Regions from separate parts of the Homo sapiens genome. Here region 1 is linked to region 2. Evidence: promoter capture Hi-C in human tissues and cell types (Jung and others, 2019). All regions are on one chromosome and are shown on one strand. Each heading gives the region's core, a stretch centred on a gene start or on the middle of the fragment in contact. The rest is flanking DNA. Distances are from core to core; before and after follow the strand shown.

Region 1 (2,700 bases), core at 137-2,636, 53 kb after region 2:
AGTCACTGCTCACTGAAGCCTCAGCCCCTTGAGCTTGTGCCATCCTCCCACCTCAGCCTCTCATGTATCTGGGACTGCAGGGGCATGCCACCGTGCCCAGCTAATTTTTTAAAATTGTATTTTATAGTTATGGGGTCTCACAATGTTGCCCAGGTTGGCTTTGAACTTGGGCCCAAGTGATTCTGCTGCCTAGGCCTATTGTACTTGCATGATGGAAATGGAATATAAAGGCCTGTGTTGTTTTAATCCACATTTATGGACAAGTTAGTCTCCTGTTGTCATCTGTGTCTTCTGAAGGAGTCACCTGTTTGGTTAAATAAATTCTGGCCGTTTTCTCTTAATTCATTTGCCTGAAAAAAAAATTTTTATTCTACCTCTCCTTTGAACAGCATCCTGGTGGGGAAGAAGTTTTAAGGGAACAAGCTGGAGGTGACGCTACTGAGAACTTTGAGGATGTCGGGCACTCTACAGATGCCAGGGAAATGTCCAAAACATTCATCATTGGGGAGCTCCATCCAGTAAGTACATTTTGGGGGCCCTTTCTTATTTGTATTTAAGGCTATCAGATGACCTTACCCTAGTCTGTAAGCTTGCATGTATACACATTTTAAAAGGAGTAAAGCAAAAACAACTCCTGATTTTAGGACACCATTTTTTGTTATAAATAAATTGACCAAAAATGTCTTTGCATTTCACTGTTGCTTTTTTTTTTTTTTTTTTGAGACAGGTCTTACTCTGTCACCCAGGCTGGAGTGCAGTGGCACGATCATGGCTCCCTGCAGCCTCAACCTCCTGGGCTCAAGCCATCCTCCTGCCTCAGCCTCTTGGTAGCTGGGACTACAGGCACACACCTCCACGCCTGATAAATTTCATAGTTTTTGTAGAGACGGGGTTTCACCGTGTTGCCCAGGCTGGTCTCAAACTCCTGGACTCAAGCGATCCACCCACCTCGGCCTCTCAAAGTGTTGGGATTACAGGCGTGAGCCCCCACACCTGGCCTGGTTGCATTGTTTACTGGCACTTCGTTTTAGTCAGCAGGCTCCACCCCACAGCCATGCACTGGGGAGTCTGCTCAGTCCTAGAAATTCCATGGGGCAGCACGTTTTACAAGGTGGGGAGAATCAACCCAGCATTGCTTTCTTTCCTTTTCTGACCAAAATATTTTTATTAAGAACCCCACTTCTACTTTCATTAGGCCAAGGATATTTTAGTTCTAAAAAATGATTTAAAAAATATAAAAACGGAGCTATGTGAAATGAATAAGCTCTGCCTTCTGTAGAACTAGCACATTGTCCATATTCTACTCACTGTACCCCAGACCTTCGAGAATATCAGCTCTGGACCAATTCATTGACCAACTTTTGGAAAACACTGGCCTAATTTGGCTTTTCTTTTCTTTTTTTTTTTTTTTGAGACAGAGTCTTGCTCTGTTGCCCAGGCTGGAGTGCAGTGGCGCGATCTCGGCCCACTGCAACCTCCACCTCCTGGGTTCAAGCAATTCTCCTGCCTTAGCCTCCCAAGTATCTGGGATTACAGGCACAGGCCACCATGCCTGGCCAATTGTTTTGTATTTTTAGTAGAGATGGGGTTTCGCCATGTTGGCCAGGTTGGCCTTGTACTCCTGACCTCAGGTAATCCACCTACCTAGGCCTCCCAGAGTGCTAGGATTACAGGTGTGAGTCACCGCACCTAGTCCTAATTTGGCTTTTCTATAAACACTGTGCTGTGTTACGGTTTTAGACCCCTCTGTGGCAGTTGTAAATGACCATGTTAAATGTTACTAGTCTGTCAACCTAAGTTATCAGGAAAATCGCTGAAAACTTGGAAAGAAGTTGCCGAGCGCTCTGAGCTTCTGGAGTGGATCCTGGGGCCGCACACTCAGCTGCCCTGTCCACCTCTGGGAGTGCCTGGCTCCGTCCTGCCTTCCCACTTGTGGTGCATGGTTAGCAGCCCGCCAGAAGGGGACAAAGACCTGCTAGGAGCCCGCTCTGCTCTCGTAAGAAAAAAATGGAGAGGCAAATAGCCTCATTCTAAGTGAGCAAACTGAGAAACTCTTAAAGAATATAGGAAAAGTCTTATCGTATACCACTGATGATCCCTGTAATGACTGTGAATGAAGAAGAGGTTACATTAGGTTCTTTGTAGAAGGCTCGAAAGTAGGAAATCCATTTGAGAACAACTTCATTGAGTTGGGAGGTTTGTTTGATTTTGTTTTTGGTGGTAGGAGATATGTACTTTGAGGGAGTAAGCTTCATTCATCTGACAAGTTTATTTGCCCCGATATTTTCATCCCATACTTCACAAAGGCAAAGTGTCTTAGGGTCATCAGGGAGGCCTGCCGTTACACATGCCTGATCCCATCCTTGTTTCCAGCTGTGGGTCAGGTTTCAGGCCCTGACTGTGGCACTTCTGCTTCACCTGCCCACTGGGCTTCCCCCTGGCCAGCCTTTAAACACACTGTATTTTTGACAGCTTCAGCCTGAAGTTGAAATAGTTTATGACTCTAAAACTGGGAGACTGCAGGGCTTAACTGAAGATATCATACACGTAAGAGATACATGCACAATCTCAAATGGAATTTGAGAGGACAGAAGGGAAGAATCAGTCTTCAGCTCCTCCCTGAATTACGTGTCGCAATCTGAGTCTAATAAATGTGTGTGCACATCAGCATGTACAGAGAGCTGTCATGGGTGCTGTTCG
Region 2 (2,757 bases), core at 248-2,747:
TATCCAGCTTTCAAATTCTATTGGAGGCACAGTTTACAGTTGATAATTCATAAGGTATACCTTTGAAGTCTACATTACATTTTACTACAGTAACAAAAACTGGAATATAAAAGTAAAGCAACCCAGTGAAGCTTCAGTACACTAACATGCACAAATACATTAGGGAAAAGTAAGCTGGACTCTAGTACTTTCAACTTTTCAACATCAACATGCTTTTTCTTTTTAAGAAAGAATAATATACTGGCCCGGGAATGTGCAGTGTGACCAGCCTTCTGATCACAGTACTGAAATGAGTTTGTGGTGTCATCTGAGGAATGCTGGCAATGCCAGCAGGAATGTAATACAGTAGGAATGTAAATTCCAGGTCACCAAAAAATTCCTGGGTGCAAGTCCTCCCGTTTTGCCAATCTTCAAATACTCACGGATTGCAACACTGTATGTAAACAAGAGTGATCTGTTCAGGGATAAGCATGAATTTATTAGAATTATTACTATTGTTTAATTTTGTGAGTTCCTAGTTGGCAAAACTTGCAGATTCAAAAAGAATGTTGTTTTCTTTGGCTAGGCTGTAGAACTATATTGTGAAGCTCAAAACGTGGGCCAAGCCTTATTATGATCTACGGATGCGCTATTAACATCCTGTCCAGGGAGTCGCTCCACTACGTTTCTGTCCCAGGATTTCATCTTTATTCCCAATCCCCAGCAGGGCAAGGAACAAGTGCTAGGAGCAGGCAACAGGCACCTACGCAATTCTACACGTGAGGGAGGACTCAGAGAACCCCAAAGGACCAAAACTCTGGGAGCGCCCAGCTCCTGCAGTGCTGTGCGCTAAGCCTCGGGACCGCCGCTACGAGGGACCCTTCCTAAAAATCCTCCCGGGGCGCGGGGTTCAGGGCGGCCCCAGACCCGGCTTGCCGCTGCCCCCAGGCGAGCGCCCACCCCTCTTCCGGCCTGGCTTCTGTGAGAACAGTAATGGACGTGAGTGGAAACGAATCTAAGGTCTTTGTTCAGCTAAATCCATTTTAAAAGGTGATTCTATAAATTTCCGATATAATGAAATGCCCGAAAAATTGGGACTCATGGGTCTTTGCAGATGAATACATTTTTTTCCTGACCCAAACCAACGTCCTCAGGGTGCCGGCGCCGGCACCGGGATCCTGCCCTCATGGCGGCCCTGACCTGCTCCTCCGCAACCGTGGGGAAGAGAATCAGGAAAATGGTCTTACAAACTGGAAAAGCAACACTTCTAACGCCCACGGCCTCCTGCACTGCAGATGCGTCAGGCGTCTCCTCAGGGGGAGGAAAGGGCGGGTGGGCGGCAGGGCCTCCAGCAGTCTCCCTCGCTTCCGCTCTGCCTCCTTCAAGCAGCTGCCCCCCAAGGCCAGGCCTCTTGGTCTCTGTGGGGCGTCGATTGAGAGCCCGCGTGCCTCAGCTCCCTCCTCGCTGCCCTCAGGAGACGCTCCCGGCTCGCCCCGCGTGCCCTGCCTTCATCGGAGTGTCCCCTCGTGCCCTCCTCACAGCCCTCGGGAGCCAATCCCAGTATTTCCCGCGCTCTCCCAGCGTTCCCTGCGCTCTCCCAGCATGCCCTGCAAGCCTTGCGCTCCTGGCACGCAATGTAGGTCAACTTTTCCCGCCAAGGCAGGAACCGACCAAAGCTGGTCACGGATGACCCAGTGAAGCCCTGTGAGATTCTCTCAGCCTGAGCTGGTGTGGGTGGGGCCGGGACACAAGGTTCTGGCCGCCCTCGAAGGCGGGAAAGCTGGGTCAGCGCAACACGTCCAACGGGGAGCTCCGGCGCTGAAGCCCCGGCTAACTGCGTGCTGCACAGGGGCTACCCAGCCTCTTGCCTCGGCACGTTTCTCCTCAGATTCTCATGCCCGAATTTACAGCTTCTGCAGTTCCTTTAGTGGTGGGAATCTCCATGACTGGAACATCTTCATGCCTGGTGTGGAGGGGAAGCGTGGTGCAAGCTCGTGGGAGTAAATCCACGAAGCGCCTACTGTGTGCAGATGCGTTTCTAAGGTCTGCTGATAGAGCACTAAGCAAACAGCATTCCCGGTCCTTGTGGGATGCACATTTTACTTGGTAGTTGGGGGAAAACAGATACGCAAGATAAATGTGCAAAATCTTAGTGTGGCAGATGGTGATAGGTGCATTGGAGAAAAATTAAGTAGGGTAGGGAGGCGGGGAGTGCCGAGGAGAAGTCGTTAGGTTTAATAGCGTGGTCAGGAAGGCCTCGTGGAGAACGGGACGTTTGAGAAAGACATGAAGGCGGTGAGAGTGGGCAGCCTCGTGCATGTCTCGGGGGAGAATGTTTGTTACGAGAGAGGGAATCCTACAAAAGGCCAGGGCAGGAGGGACGCCAGCTGGCTGCAGTAGAGCAGGAAAGAAGTGGCTCCGTGAGGCAGGAGGAGTTACAGAGAGCCAGACAGGGTTAGGCCCGATAAGCCATGGAAGTATTAAAGGTGCATCCAGCCTGCTGTGCTGGAATGGACTGAAGGGGACAGGGAAAGGAAGAAAAGCAGTTAGGAGGCAATGGCAATAAGGAGAGAGGTGGCTTGGATCAGAGCAGTGGCAGTGGAGGGAATGGGATGGGATGGGATTGGATTCTGGATATATTTTGAAATTAGATTTAATAGGATTTGGATATGGATTGATGTGGGATCTGAGAGAGAGGGAGAGGAATCAAGCATCACTCCAAGGTTTTTATACTAAGAATTCAGAAGGATTGGGTTGCCATTAATTACAAAGGGGAAG

What was found. The method cuts DNA at HindIII sites, captures the fragments that hold promoters and counts their contacts. A contact is called where the count stands out against the background at its distance.
Region 1: a fragment that was not itself captured here is called in contact with the fragment with the promoter of C18orf63 in region 2 in 1 of the 25 tissues and cell types used here (thymus).

Annotation. Positions count from the first base shown.
Region 1 is chr18:74,261,167-74,263,866 of GRCh38, reverse strand. CYB5A (cytochrome b5 type A) reads left to right here. Exons shown (of 5, transcript NM_148923.4): 2 at 390-518. Among named protein-coding and RNA genes, the nearest start is that of CYB5A, 29 kb to the left of the region's middle. The HindIII fragment of the contact is 4,034 bases long and covers 1-2,700 here.
Region 2 is chr18:74,314,579-74,317,335 of GRCh38, reverse strand. C18orf63 (chromosome 18 open reading frame 63) reads right to left here and starts at 1,497. Exons shown (of 14, transcript NM_001174123.2): 1 at 1,227-1,497. RefSeq lists an enhancer at 1,120-1,289. The HindIII fragment of the contact is 6,586 bases long and covers 1-2,757 here.